5 separate regions of the Homo sapiens genome follow, and all the other regions are linked to region 2. The links are contacts of gene promoters, found by promoter capture Hi-C in blood cells and fetal thymus (Javierre and others, 2016). All regions are on one chromosome and are shown on one strand. The core of a region is centred on a gene start or on the middle of the fragment in contact, and the rest is flanking DNA. Distances in the headings are between cores, read along the strand shown.

Evidence for each region. Contacts are between HindIII fragments. The CHiCAGO score rates a contact against its expected background, and 5 or more counts as called.
Region 1: a contact is called between a fragment that was not itself captured here and the fragment with the promoter of RTCB in region 2, in 2 of 17 cell types (total CD4 T cells and naive CD4 T cells). The highest score is 5.9, in total CD4 T cells.
Region 3: a contact is called between a fragment that was not itself captured here and the fragment with the promoter of RTCB in region 2, in 1 of 17 cell types (total CD8 T cells). The highest score is 7.3, in total CD8 T cells.
Region 4: a contact is called between a fragment that was not itself captured here and the fragment with the promoter of RTCB in region 2, in 3 of 17 cell types (non-activated CD4 T cells, naive CD4 T cells and total CD8 T cells). The highest score is 7.3, in non-activated CD4 T cells.
Region 5: a fragment that was not itself captured here is called in contact with the fragment with the promoter of RTCB in region 2 in 1 of 17 cell types (M0 macrophages); the score reaches 5.2 in M0 macrophages.

Annotation. Positions count from the first base shown.
Region 1 is chr22:32,099,860-32,102,559 of GRCh38, forward strand. It overlaps SLC5A1 (solute carrier family 5 member 1), which reads left to right. Exons shown (of 15, transcript NM_000343.4): 13 at 2,163-2,378. Among named protein-coding and RNA genes, the nearest start is that of SLC5A1, 58 kb to the left of the region's middle. The HindIII fragment of the contact is 4,968 bases long and covers 1-2,700 here.
Region 2 is chr22:32,410,890-32,413,589 of GRCh38, forward strand. It overlaps RTCB (RNA 2',3'-cyclic phosphate and 5'-OH ligase), which reads right to left and starts at 1,358. Exons shown (of 12, transcript NM_014306.5): 1 at 1,175-1,358. The coding sequence starts at 1,267. RefSeq lists an enhancer at 1,328-1,507. The HindIII fragment of the contact is 2,194 bases long and covers 264-2,457 here.
Region 3 is chr22:31,959,070-31,961,769 of GRCh38, forward strand. No RefSeq gene overlaps it. Among named protein-coding and RNA genes, the nearest start is that of LINC02558, 10 kb to the right of the region's middle. The HindIII fragment of the contact is 3,046 bases long and covers 1-2,700 here.
Region 4 is chr22:32,136,794-32,139,493 of GRCh38, forward strand. No RefSeq gene overlaps it. Among named protein-coding and RNA genes, the nearest start is that of C22orf42, 21 kb to the right of the region's middle. The HindIII fragment of the contact is 8,725 bases long and covers 1-2,700 here.
Region 5 is chr22:32,079,107-32,081,806 of GRCh38, forward strand. All of the region lies in intron 5 of SLC5A1 (solute carrier family 5 member 1), which reads left to right. Among named protein-coding and RNA genes, the nearest start is that of SLC5A1, 37 kb to the left of the region's middle. The HindIII fragment of the contact is 2,523 bases long and covers 145-2,667 here.

The DNA.
Region 1 (2,700 bases), core at 49-2,548, 310 kb before region 2:
CAGGGCCCAGTGAAGACAAAGTCCTGGTGCACAAGCAGTTTATACATAAAACAAAGTGCGTAAGAAGTAAGGGATACAATACAGCACATGATATGAGCAGGAAGGGATTTAAGAAAGGCTTTATTAGCAGGGACTGAAACTGTCAGGGAAGGCTCCTTGGACCAGCTGGAGCTGGAAGAATTTGAAGTTGGAGAGGGAAGACATGGCATTCAAGTCAGAGAACAGTACTGCCCAGACCTTTCAGGCAGAAGTAGGACAGGAGTGAGGGTGAAGGACTTGTATGGAATCTCACCTGGCTCAAGGAGAGTTTGTGAATGTGAAAGATGGAAGATGTGGCTGGAAAGGTAGGTCAGGGTTTCATTAACAGTGATCCCTTTGGTGGAATCTTTAGGTTTTTCTAAATATGAGATCATATCATATGTAAATGAGGCCAATTTGACTTCTTCTTTTCCAATTTGGATGCCCTTTTTCTCTTGCCTAACTGCGCTGTCTAGGACTTCCAGTACTATGTTGAATAAAAGTGGTGAAAGGGTATCCTTTTCTTTTTCCAGATCTTACCGGAAAGGCTTTCAATTTTTCCCTGTTCAGTATGATGTCAGCTGTGAGTTTGTCATATATAGCTTATAATCTTTATTGTTTTTGAGGTTTGTTACTTCTGTACCTAATTTGTTGAGTTTTTATTATGAAAAAATTTGAATTTTTAAAAAATTATTTCGTGGCAAATTTATTGATTTTTTTTGAGACAGGAATCTCACTGTATTGCCAAGGCTAGTCTCAAACTCCTGAACTCAAGTGATTCTTCTGCCTCAGCCTCCAAAGTAGCGAGGACTACAGGCACACCCCATGCCCAGCTAAGAAATAATTTTTTTGAGTGAAATAGTGCATGGGGGATGAATAGGGAACATATTTTTTTCTTTTTCCTTATTTATTTCTTCATCTAGAAGTCACTTCCAGATGCCAGCATAGGGTGAGGCACTAGCAACACAAAGTGAATGAAACCTGTTTCCTTTCCTGGGCAATCCCCCGGTTCAGATTGGGAGACAGAGAACTATTGTGATTCCATGGCAGTGTGGTTGGTGCTTGCCTGGATCTGTGTCCACAGTGCTGTGGCCACAGCAAGAAAGGGTGCACCCACCCTGTGTAGCTTGTCCTATTTAAGCTAGAATGAGGTTACCAGGAAGAGAAGAGCCTGTATTCTCCCAGATAGAATGAGCTGTACAAAGACCTGGAGACAAAAACACATGCCATGCCATGTGTGGGGGATAGCTGATAATTTGGAATAGAAAGTGCAGGGATACCAATGGCTAGCAAAGAGGCTGACCAGCACCTGATAAAACTGTGAAAGCTCTTTTGGGCCACCCTTCTAAGAGCACATTCTATTTTGCCACTGGCCTGCCAAACTCAAACCTAGTCCTTTAGGTGAGGACTTACCTAAGGGAAAGATAGAAAGGAAAAAAGGAAGGAGGGAAGGAAGGAAGGAGTAAAAAAAACCCTGAAAAATCATCCCCTCATGTTTCTGGTCTCTTAAAGTCTTCCATATTCTAATATGCAGACCCAAAATTTAATGTAAAAACACAGTATAATTTTATGTTCTCAAACTAAAAATAGTTCATAAAATAAACTACAAAGAGGGCTAAAAAAGTAAGTGTTATTTATATTTTGATGGAAAAGTTTCTTTCTCCTTCATCTTCCAAAGACCCAATTTCTTTTCCCATGTCTTTGTGAAATACAAATTACCTCACAAGTAATTACTTTTCATCTGAATATGCCTAAATCTGGAGATTGGTGTTGACAGTAGCTGCAGGTGGAGAGGCTCAAATTATTTTTCAAGTTAAAGGGAATTTTTGGAATCAAGTCTGTAGGTTGACATTCTATTCCAGTTATTAGACACTTTACCCCATTATATTATGGCTCCTTGTTTAATGATCGAGGTGAAATCATGTTGCTGAAACATGATAGACAGACACACTGAGTGTGTCTGTCTGAGTGCATAGCACTCCTAGCCATATTCTGAACTTCAGTGTTCTGGGTTCAGACAGCCTGGAGCTACCACTTCTCCTACCTCTGTTCCTTTGCCTCTGCCTATGCCTCTCCAAAGAATGTTAGAAAGGCCATCTGTTTTGTGTGTTCAGCATGAGTTAACCCAGGGTTTTCTTTCACAGGGAGCCTTTTGGGGACTGATCCTAGGACTTCTGATTGGGATTTCACGTATGATTACTGAGTTTGCTTATGGAACCGGGAGCTGCATGGAGCCCAGCAACTGTCCCACGATTATCTGTGGGGTGCACTACTTGTACTTTGCCATTATCCTCTTCGCCATTTCTTTCATCACCATCGTGGTCATCTCCCTCCTCACCAAACCCATTCCGGATGTGCATGTGAGTATCCATTTAGGGGATCTGTCCTTGTTTCATGTTCACACTGCAATGTTCTTTAATTTTTTTTAAATTTTTCATTATTATGGGTACATAATAGTTGTATATAATTATGGGGTACATGTAATGTTTTGATACAGGCATACAATATAAAATAATCAAATCAGGGTAATTGGGGTGTCCATTGCCTCAAGCATTTATCATTTCTTTGTGTTAGGAACATTCCAATTCCACTCTTAGTTATTTTAAAATACAGATTATGGTGGCTCATGCCTGTAATCCCAGCACTTTGGGAGGCCAAGGTGGGAGGATCACCTGAGTCCAG
Region 2 (2,700 bases), core at 108-2,607:
TAGAGACAGGGTCCCACTATATTGCCCAGGCAGGTCTCCAAAGTCCTAGGCACAAAGGATCTTCCCGCCTTGGCCTCCCAAAGCGTTGGGATTACAGGCCATGAACCACTGCGCTCTCCCTATGTTAGATTTTCTATTCCTTCCTTCAGGGTAACGGTTTCCACACAAAGAAAGTGGCCAAACAGCAAACAGAACACAGATTTATCCCCGTGCGCTTTTTCTTCCCTCAGTGTAAGTGACTTGCCAACAAGGGAAACTCAGTAAGCTTTGATTCTGAATAAAAGAATGGAGTGACTATTGGGAGCTGTTTACCAAGACGTGAGACGAGACGGTAAACCTTTGAAGCATTTACTTGGCACCTTCAGGGATTTCAAAAACTATTTAAAAATACGTTGCAAAACTTCATAAACGTTTTCTTTTTTCACATTAATAAAAATATGAGCACAGATGGTGATGAAGGCCGAGAGATACAGAGCCCAGGCTTTCAAACTATCTGATGATCCTGAGCCCTCAAGTCTCCATCTGGGACGTCAAAGAAGTAAACCGGACATCAAGTCCTGGCTGAGCTTCTTCCTAGGTGGGTAGAGGAAGCTATGTCACCGACAGATCCTCGAGGTCCTTCTGTGAAGTGAATATTAAAATCAAACAGGCCCTGCCCTGCGCTACTGCAAGAAATGACATCGCTTTATTAAAAACCAACATGCGATACTGAATGCTGAAAACCTGGTTTAGTGAACAAAGGTTTGTAAACGTTATTTAAATAACCAGCATGACTCAGAGGAGGTGAATTCCAGTCCCAGCAAATGAACCTGGGGCTGGCTGTTCCACCCTGGAAAAGATCACTGAAGTTTCTGTGAACGTAAAACAGCTCACGATACGTTTATGAGACTGATCTGTGAAAACGCTTTGGAAACCCCAATTTCGTATTTATTTAGATTCCCATATCCACCGCACTTAGCTTGTCCTCGTGGTTCGGGGACCTCTCCTGGCGGGAGGTGGTGCCGGAACAGGTTGGGCGGCCCCAGAACCGTGAGGGGAGAAGGACGGGATGAGGGAAACTCTGCAAGGGGCCGGGGCGGACCCAGTGGTCAGGGGAGGTCCAGAGGGCGCAGTGGACGCCGGCCGGGCCGGGGACGGAGCACGGAAGGCCCCGCCATTTGCTCTCCTGCCTTACCTGCATGTTGGGCACGAAGCCCTTCTTGATCCTCCAGCAGTTTTTATTGATCTTCTCCAAGAACTGCAGCTCATCATTATAGCTGCGACTCATGGTGGCGAAAACTGTAGCAAAAACTCCCGGCTCCGCTTTGAAGAGCCGCTGCCGCGTAGTCCGGCTTCTCAGAGCACCGCCTTCCAAGAACCAAAGCGCAGGCGCGACCAGCGCCGCAGCAGATGAGCAACGGCAAGCGCCGAGGCTCAAAATTCTTCAGGCCAATGTCTTTCCTCTGGTTAAGTTGTACTGTCCTGTAGTGTATAACTTTAGGATCTTTATTAGTCGATTTCCTCTAAACTACAGCTAAGCGAAATCCAGAAGTTTAAAGTATAATCTAGTTATCTTTTGTTTTGGAAATGCTTTTCAGCAGCTTATGAAAACACCTTGAGTCTGGGTCAGGTTCGGTGCATTGGCTTGGAGTTTACACCCTCAGCTGGGAGGGGAAAAAGATAACGCCAGCAGCTGAGAAAGAAAAACCTGTTTGAGTAAATACCATAGCTGAACATTTATGTTTCAGAATGAATCTGGATATACACCAAATAACTTTTTTGGTCAGAAAGGAGCATCCCAAAGAATGAAGCATGGCAGCTTATCATTTATTCTGACAAACACTTGTGGGTGCATCTATTGTGGCCAGACATATACTACAAAATGATCAAATCACAGCCCTTATGGATCGCCAAAACTCCCCAGTCTAGCCGCATTTGATGATCAAGACCTCTTTAATCATGCTTTTATACGCCGTGTCTCTTGTTCATAGTGGTAAGTGAGCTTTAAGTGATTTCAGTTTCCAGTTCGGCCTCATGTCAACAACTGCAACTTTGGGATTAGAAAGACGCAAGATTCAATTTCTATCTGTGCCATTTACTGACTTGGTGTGATTAACCCCTCTTATCTCTGTTTCGTCATCTCTAAAATGGGATCATAATTCTTTCTTGAGTAGAAGGCTAAATGAAGTGACACTGGAGGGGTAATCAGCACGGGGCTTGGCACACGGCAAGCACTCTATAAACAGCTCTCCTCTTTCCATTCCCCCACTAGACTGTAAGTGCTGCAAAAAACAGTATGTAGTTTCCATTCATTTGTTGCATTATCTACACTGGTTCCGCTTTTCTTCTCTTCTGCCCCAATTTCTCCCCATTGATTAGGTGCTCTGACACATTAATATCATTCTCAGTTATGAATTGTCTGAGTTTAGTACTCTGCACTGCCATTTCATTGAATCTGTGGTGGGTGAAAAATCCCAAAGCTTGAAGTGATACAACTTTTAGAGTTTCCTGTGGTTACCCTGTTCCTTCTTGGAAAGATTTCAGAGGTAAAGAATTCTCTTTTAAAATCAAGCCTTGATGTCTGTGCAACCTTAGGTCTCTTCCCTTTTCTATGTCTTATTTTATTTTATTATTTTTTTGAGTTGGAGTCTTGCTCTGTCGCCAGGCTGGAGTGCAGTGGTGCCATCTCGGCTCACTGCAACCTCCGCCTCCCAGGTTCAA
Region 3 (2,700 bases), core at 44-2,543, 450 kb before region 2:
CTCTGTCTCTCTCTCTCTCACACACACACACAAAGGGCTCTTACATTTTCTTTTTTTGTTTGAGATGGGAGTCTCACTCTTGTCACCCAGGCTGGAGTGCAATGGCACGATCTCAGCTCACTGCAACCTTTGCCTCCCAGGTTCAAGTGATTCTCCTGCCTCAGCCTCCTGAGTAGCTGGGATTACAGGCACCCACTGTCGTGCCCGGCTAATTTTGGTATTTTTGTGGAGATGGGGTTTCACCATGTTGGCCAGGCTGGTCTTGAACTCCTGACCTCAAGTGATCCTCCCACCTCAGCCTCTCAAAGTGCTGGGATTACAGGCATGAGCCACTGTGCCCGGTCGCTTTTACATTTGAAATGTCCTTTGCAGTTGCTAAAGCATTCACATTTACGTTTTACAGCTGTCTTCTGAAAGGTTTTGTCCCACTTTACAGATGAGGAAGCTAAAGTGCAAAGGTTGTGGATCTCTGGAATTTATACAGCTGGTAAGCTAGAGGACAGCTTCCACCCAAGATTTATTCAGAATTTTAACGGCCCTCTGGGGGGCCTGGGGAACCTTGGCAAGCCATGCCACCTTTGAGGTTCAGGTCCCTCATTTTTTAAGTGTAGGATTTGGGTTATGTTTTAATCTAAGTTCATGGTGTGTAAGGCACCTTCTTTGGGAATGAGGTATGGGGAAGTATGGACATACGTGATTAATGTTAGCCACATAGGTCGCGTGCAGTGGCTCATGCCTGTAATCCCAGTACTTTGGGAGGCTGAGGTGGGTGGATCACTTGAGGTTAGGAGTTCGAGACCAGTCTGACCAATATGGTGAAACCCCGCCTCTACTAAAAATACAAAAATTAGCTGGGTGTGGTGGCTGGTGCCTGTAATCCCAGCTACGATGGAGGCTGAGGCAGGAGAATCACTTGAACCCAGGAGGCGGAGGTTGCAGGGAGCCGAGATTGTCCCACTGCACTCCAGCCTGGGCAACAGAGTGAGACTCGGTTTCAAAAAAAAGAAAGAAAAGGAGGTTAGCCACATAAATAATAGATGAGGCTCTTTGAAAGGACCTAAGAGGGTGCTGTAAATTACATGTGATGTAAGCCTGGAAGTCTTCACTGCTGCATATTTTTTCCCCAATTCTACTTAAAACGTTTTAAAACTTGTCAAGATAACTTTCTCAAATCGTTAAGAAGGGGTCATCTCAATGTTACAGCATGAGAAATTAAAGTCCAGAGAAATGAAATAGCTTTCTAGGTCATGGCAAAATTGGTGCATCTGGAGTAGCATTCAGATCCCGAATCCTTGTCCCTGGTTCTCTTAACTGCCATGCTCTTTGGGTTGAGACTAGAAAGAAAATGGATACAACACATTTCACCCTTAGGAGACTTTCAGTGTTTTTAATGTTTTCACTTAGAATGGAAGAAATTATACTTGAAAAGGGATGTTTAAATTTATTGATGTTGGCTGGGCGCGGTGGCTCACGCCTGTAATCCTAGCAGTTTGGGAGGCCGAGGTGGGCGGATCACCTGAGGTCAGGAGTTCGAGACCAGCCTGACCAACATGGAGAAACCCCATCTCTAGTAAAAATGCAAAATTAGCCGGGCATGGAGGCGCATGCCTGTAATTCCAGCTACTCAGCAGGCTGAGGCAGGAGAATCGCTTGAACCTGCGAGGCAGAGGTTGCGGTGAGCCGAGATCGCGCTATTGCACTCCAACCTGGGCAACAAGAGCAAAAACTCCGTCCCCGCCCCCCCCCCCCCCCCAGAAAAAATTATTGTTGCTATTGCTTCAGATTTCCAGTAGCTCCTCAAACCCTGCTCAAAAGTCCATTTCTTTGAGTTGGGGGAAGGGGTAGGATTCTTGATAATGAAGCTATTGTTGGGTAAATTCTTGGCCGTCCTTAAATCCTTCGGGATCAGGGAGCTAGGATTCCTCTTGGCTCTGTAAGATTAAATAGGCTGTGCGTGGGCCATCAGGCCCTCCATACCTTCCTCCCATACACCCTTAGAATCTGCCATCCAGAGACTGAGAGGGTCCTCATCTTAGCAGATGTGACTATCAGGCAAGCACAAACACTATGATTCAGAGCTGGGTGTGACTTAACAGGTCTTCTTTCATTATAAAACCCAATCATTAGACTGGCTAATAAAAATTACCATCTCAAATACTTACTGTGTCTTGGGTACTTTGAATGCATGGTCTCTGAATCTTTACAGCAGCCTTAGCAGTGAGGAATGTTAATATTTTTAACACATGAGGAAACCAGGTATTCGGTGATGTAACGTGCATAGCTAGTAAGAGGCAAGGTTGAGATTGAAATGGGCTGTCTTACTTTAAGGTTCTTTCCACTACGCCATGGATATTTTGATCCCCAACTAGAGAAAAGGAGTCCTAGAAATGTTATAACAAGCCTGGCAAGGTGGTTTACACCTGTAATCCCAGTACTTTAGGAGGCCGAGGTGGGAGGAGGATTGCTTGAGTCCGGGAGTTTGAGACCAGCCCGAGCAACACAGTAAAACCCCATCTGTACTAAAAGTACAAAAATTTAGCCAGCTGTGTTGTTGCATGCCTGTAGTCCCACCTATTTGAGAGGCTGAGGTGGGAGGATTGCTTGGTCCTGGGAGGTTGAGGCTGCAGTGAGCCCTGATTACACCACTGCACTCCAGCCTGGGTGACAGCCTGTCTCAAGCAAACAAACAAACCTGAAGGA
Region 4 (2,700 bases), core at 144-2,643, 270 kb before region 2:
CGGTTGCACCTTTCTTTAGGACGGTCAGCTGGGTCTCTCTGCTAAACATCAAGCGCTGTGACACAGGCTCATACAAAAACTACTCCCTAGGACCCCCTATGCCCCCCTCCCCAGCCCCCACCTGCAGCTGTGGTGCAGGAAAGCTGAACCCCTGACTCCGGTGGGCATTTGCTCAGCAGGGTGTCCACAACTCTGCCTGCGCTTCTGAAGCTGAGATGAGACAGTCAGCCCCATGCATACAATGACAGGATGTCTGGAAATGCAGAGGCCCAAGGAAATTCATGTCTGGATCAGGTTTTCCCTTTGATTGTGGCCCAGGAATGGGAATGAGCTCCTGGGAGGGCGTTTGCTTCCCTAAGGAGTGAAGTGGCATGGAAGGGGACAGGGATTCTCTACGTTATAGGGTTGTGGTAACCCTGATCTCTTGGTGACCACAAAGTAAGAGCAGGGAGGCATCCTCAGGTATCCCCAATGCCCCAGAGTCTCAGCAGCCACGGGAAGGTCCAATCTGACCACAACCACAACTCCAGGGGTCTCACTTCCATCCTCTCTGGTGTTGCTTTAGCCTGTAGGCTGAAGATTAACCCCCACCCTAATCGCTTGTGCTATCTATAGATCACAGACAATGGTGTGGAGAAATACTTGCCTTGCTTACCCCCACCTAGTCATGTACCCCATGCTTGCTCAGTCTATCACGACCCTGTCACGTGGACCCCTTAGAGTTGTAAGCCCTTAAAAGGGCCAGGAACTCTTTCTTTGGGGAGCTCGGTTCTGTTCTTATGACGCAAGTCTGCTGACCTCCCGGCCTAATAAAGCCTCTTCCTTCTTTAACCCGGTGTCTGAGGAGTTTTGTCTGTGGCTCATCCTGCTACATTTCTTGGTTCCCTGACCGGGAAGTGAAGCAGCCCCTTAGGTGGCTTAGGCTTGCCCTGTGGAGCATCCCTGCAGGGGACTCTGGCCAGCTTGAGCTACGTGGATCCTGAGCATGCTCCTGGGTAGGCATTTGCCCCGGTGGAATGCCTTGTCAGAGCAGTGCATGGCAGGCCCCAGCAGAGGATCAATGCAGTGGCTGAGCACCGGGAGGGAACTGGCGCTTGGAGTCCGTATATCTGGAACATGGTAGGACTGGTCTTGGGAACTTGCCCACTCCATTTGAGTGGAAGCATGGCCTGATCACCCACAGAGTGCCTTTATCGGCACTTTGGTTTTGGTTTTGATTTTGACTTGGTTTGAATTCCTTGGCAAACGGGCGTGCCTTTGTCGGCACTTTGGTTTTGGTTTTGATTTTGACTTGGTTTGAATTACTTGACAAATGGGCGTGCCTTTATCGGCACTTTGGTTTTGGTTTCGATTTTGACTTGAATTGCTTGACAGGACCTGTCTTGGGAACTTGTCCACTCCATTTGAGTGGAAGCATGGCCTGATCACCCACAGCGTGCCTTTATCAGCACTTTGGTTTTGGTTTTGGTTTTGGTTTTGACTTGGTTTAAATTGCTTGACGAACGGGCGTGTCCTTTATCTGCACTTTGGTTTTGGTTTTGATTCTGATTTGGTGTGAATTCCTTGAACCCATTAACCCACGGGTGGCCCGAATGCATTCAGTCTGTAGCGGCAACTGCTTTGCTGACAGAAGAAAGTAGAAAAATAACTTTTAGAGGAAACCTCATTGTGAGCACACCTCACCAGTTCAGAAGTATCCTAAGTTAAAAAAAAAAAAGCAAAAAGGTAGCTTAATAACTCAAAAATCTTAAAGTATGGGGCTACTCCGTTAGAAAAAGATGATTTAACATAAACCCCTGAAAATTCCCTTAACCCAGAAGATTTCCTAACAGGGAATTTAAATCTTAATTACCATACAAAGATCCGACCAGACCTAGGAGGAACTACCTTCAGGACAGGATGATAGATAGTTCCTCCCAGGTGATTAAGGAGAAAAACCACAATGGGTATTTTGTAATTGAGGAAAACTCTTGTAGAAGTAGAGTTAGGAAAATTGCCTAATAATTGGTCTGCTCAACTTTGCCACCCAGCCAAGCCTTGAAGTACTTACAGAACCAGGAAAAAAAAAAGCCATCTATACCAATTCTAAGTTAATCTGGACTAAACAAAGTCTTATTAATAGCAAAGGATAATTGAAATCCCACACTTACAAGGTTTTCAACAAAAGTAAAGTTGTTTTGCTAAAAGTTAACAGTGTAACGTGTATGATAGTAACTTCTAATCTGTGGCCTTAGACAGTCTAGTCCACAGACCTGAAGGAAGTTTGCTTTGGAAAAGAATGGTTATCATCTTCGAAAAAAAGAAAAAAGAAAAAAAGTGGGGGTGCAGAATTTATATAAAAAGGAATGTTATATGGAAAATTCTTGTCCTGAAATAAATTAACTAGTTGTTTAAGGAAAGGGATGTTTCCAATAAGTCAGAAAGTTGAGACATGTCGAAGAATTGTCTGTGAAAATCATGAAAAAAAGTGTTAGAAAAAGAAATTTATGCAAGAAATGTTGTATAATTTAAATTAATTATCCTCCTGAATGTAAAACTGTTGAAGAAACAGTTTATGTGCAAGGTATATAAGGAAAGTAAAATATGCCTTTGGTAAAAGGATTATAAGGAAGCATAAGAATGTGGATTTTTACCTACATTAAAAGGTTACAAAAATTGTTTTGAAGGTTTAAGCAAGTTTTGAAACATTAATTGTAAAGA
Region 5 (2,700 bases), core at 156-2,655, 330 kb before region 2:
TGAACATGAAGAAAAGAAAACAAACAAACAAACAAACAAAAAAAAACAACCCTAGTGGGTTTGTTTGGCAGCTAGGAAGGACCAAAGACTAATGTCAGAGCACCCAGACTAGAGTGGCCTTGCTCAGCTGGAGTCAGCTACATAAGCTTAGCTAAGGTATTCCCAGCCTGGCCTTTGGCATGCCAAGGCAGAATTCATCTCTGAAGTTAGAATGACTCATGCGAGGAAGAATTTGTCCTAGGTTTCTTCAATTCACCAGGGAGGTTTCCTTAGAATCCTTTATCTGTACTGTTAGAAGGAAATAGAATATCATAAAAACAAGACTTTTATTAGCCCAACACTTTTCAGAAGTCTTTATAGAGGTCATTTATAGCATTATCTTATAACTTATGTGTTGCCTCTTTGTGACTAATGACAGCAAGGCACATATTAATGAGGGTATCACAGTCTACGATGGCATGTTGTCATAAAGCATTAAAAATTAACTACTCTGGAAAATCAACCAAGGGCAGTTTAAAGGCAGTGTCAGCTTTGTAATCTTTTCCTATCTTATTTACACTTATTAGCTAATCCACCAAATCAAACGTGTGTGCATTTAACAGAATTTCACTGCAATCAGTGAATGGGGCCCCTTGAATTTAAGTAACTTTATGTGACTGTGTAGAGGCATGAGAGGAGAGGGACCAGCATTATAAATATTCATTACAATTTCAAATGGCCCAGTGTGCAGAGTCAGGAAGAAGTGGCCATTTCACTTTTGGCAAGACTTATGCACAGCAGAGGCGCCTTCCTCCTCTTGGGCTACTGCAGAGGGCAAGGCAGAATGGAAGCGGTCCAGAACCCGGGAGAAGAATGCTTTCCTCACTGCAGACCTTTCCCACTTCCAACCACTGAGAATCACAAGTCCCTGGAGCCAGGACTTCCTGCATAAACACGAGGACACTGAGAATTAGAGAGGGGAAATGTTTTGCCCAAAGGTTTGCAGGCCTAGAGTGGCGGCACTGGGGCTAAAATGCTGGTTCTTCTGACTGCTAACTCCAGGGAGAGAGGAGTTTCTTTCTAACTCACCATCTCTCCTCCCACCTCCTGGCTCTGCCTCCCCTCCTTCACCAGGGAAGATGGTGACATTGGGTCCCCTGGGTGAGAGAATCTTCAGGGGAGATCTGGGCAGAGGGGAACTATGGCATCAGGTCCTCAAAAGGCCCACCTTCGGGAAGGAGGTCGAATCACCCTCCAGGGCTCACGTGTTAGCTCAGAAGCATGGAGTTGGTATTAGATGTGCTCTTTGCTAACTGATGGAGGGAGGGAATAGGAGATTCTCATAGGAGGGACAGGCAGGTATGGTGGGAAACTTAAACACTGGAGGGCCCTCAGGAGCAGCAATGGGATGGGGACTGGGAAACGGAACTAGAGAGGAGATGCAAGATATAAGAGGAGATGTGAGAAGTAAGAGTCCAACCCTGCTGGCCCATCCCCAAGGCTCCGTCTGGGTGCTGTTTGCGTGCCGTGAAATGTTAGGGTTTGTGCAGTGAAAACAGTTCGTGCATTCATTCCATCTAGGGAAGTCCAGTTTCGTCCACACCTGGAGATTTGAAAACAAAAGACTCAGCTGGGCGCAGTGGCTCACGCCTGTAATCCCAGCACTTTGGGAGTCCAAGGCAGGCAGATCACGAGGTCAGGAGTTCGAGACCAGCCTGACCAACATGGTGAAATCCTGTCTCTACTAAAAATACAAAAATTAGCTGGGTGTGGTGGTGCACACATGTAATCCCAGCTACTCAGGAGGCTGAGGCAGGAGAATCGCTTGAACCCAGGAGGCAGAGGTTGCAGTGAGTTGAGATCGCACCACTGCACTCTAGCCCGGGCGACAGAGTGAGACTCTGTCAAAAAATAAATAAATAAAAAAGACTCACCATGATCATCCCTTAATACTACCCTCCCTGGTATTGTTTTGGAGATGACATGAACATGCATTTGGGGTGACCCTGGTGCTCTCTGCTGGTTTATATGAGCAACTGCACCATCCAGCCAGGTAGAAGGTTCATTAGGAGAAGGCTGAAAGAGACAGGAAGGAGGAGAAAGGGTGAAGATGGAAGAACTGCATCAAGAATTCAGGAGTGAGGAGGGAGCAATTCTCCCAGAAATTACATGAAATAATCTAAATAAAACCAGCAAGTACCAAGCCTGCTATGTAAGAGGTGCTTGGTGATGTTCTGGTTGTGTCTGAGTCAAGATGGACTGCATCCGGGTTGGGGAGTTAAAATTACAAACTTGCTAAGTTTCTCCCCGCTCCTGGGTGGGGGTGGGGTTTCTCACTTATGGACTCTCCAGCACTCAGACTTGCTTTTGGGGACGAGCTCTGATAAACCTGTGTACACTGAGGTGCAAAAGATGGACAATAGCTCAGAGCAACAGTCTACAGGTGACTTGCAAGGAACCTCTAAGTGTTAATAGCTGTTCCTTGGCAAAAAGAGTTCAATAGTTGAGTGAGTTTGTGAGATGTCATGTACCGTGTTCCCTCCCTGGGGATGACTGTACATGGCATATATTAAAGGCTCAGAAAAGTTGTGTGGCAAAGAAACTGCCTTAATTCTGTTTAGCATTTTATAGACCTTTTTGACCATGGAATTCTTTTTCTCATGGAATACGTATTATCATCTTGAATAAAGCTTGCTTGGAAAATCAGGAGTAGAGAGACTA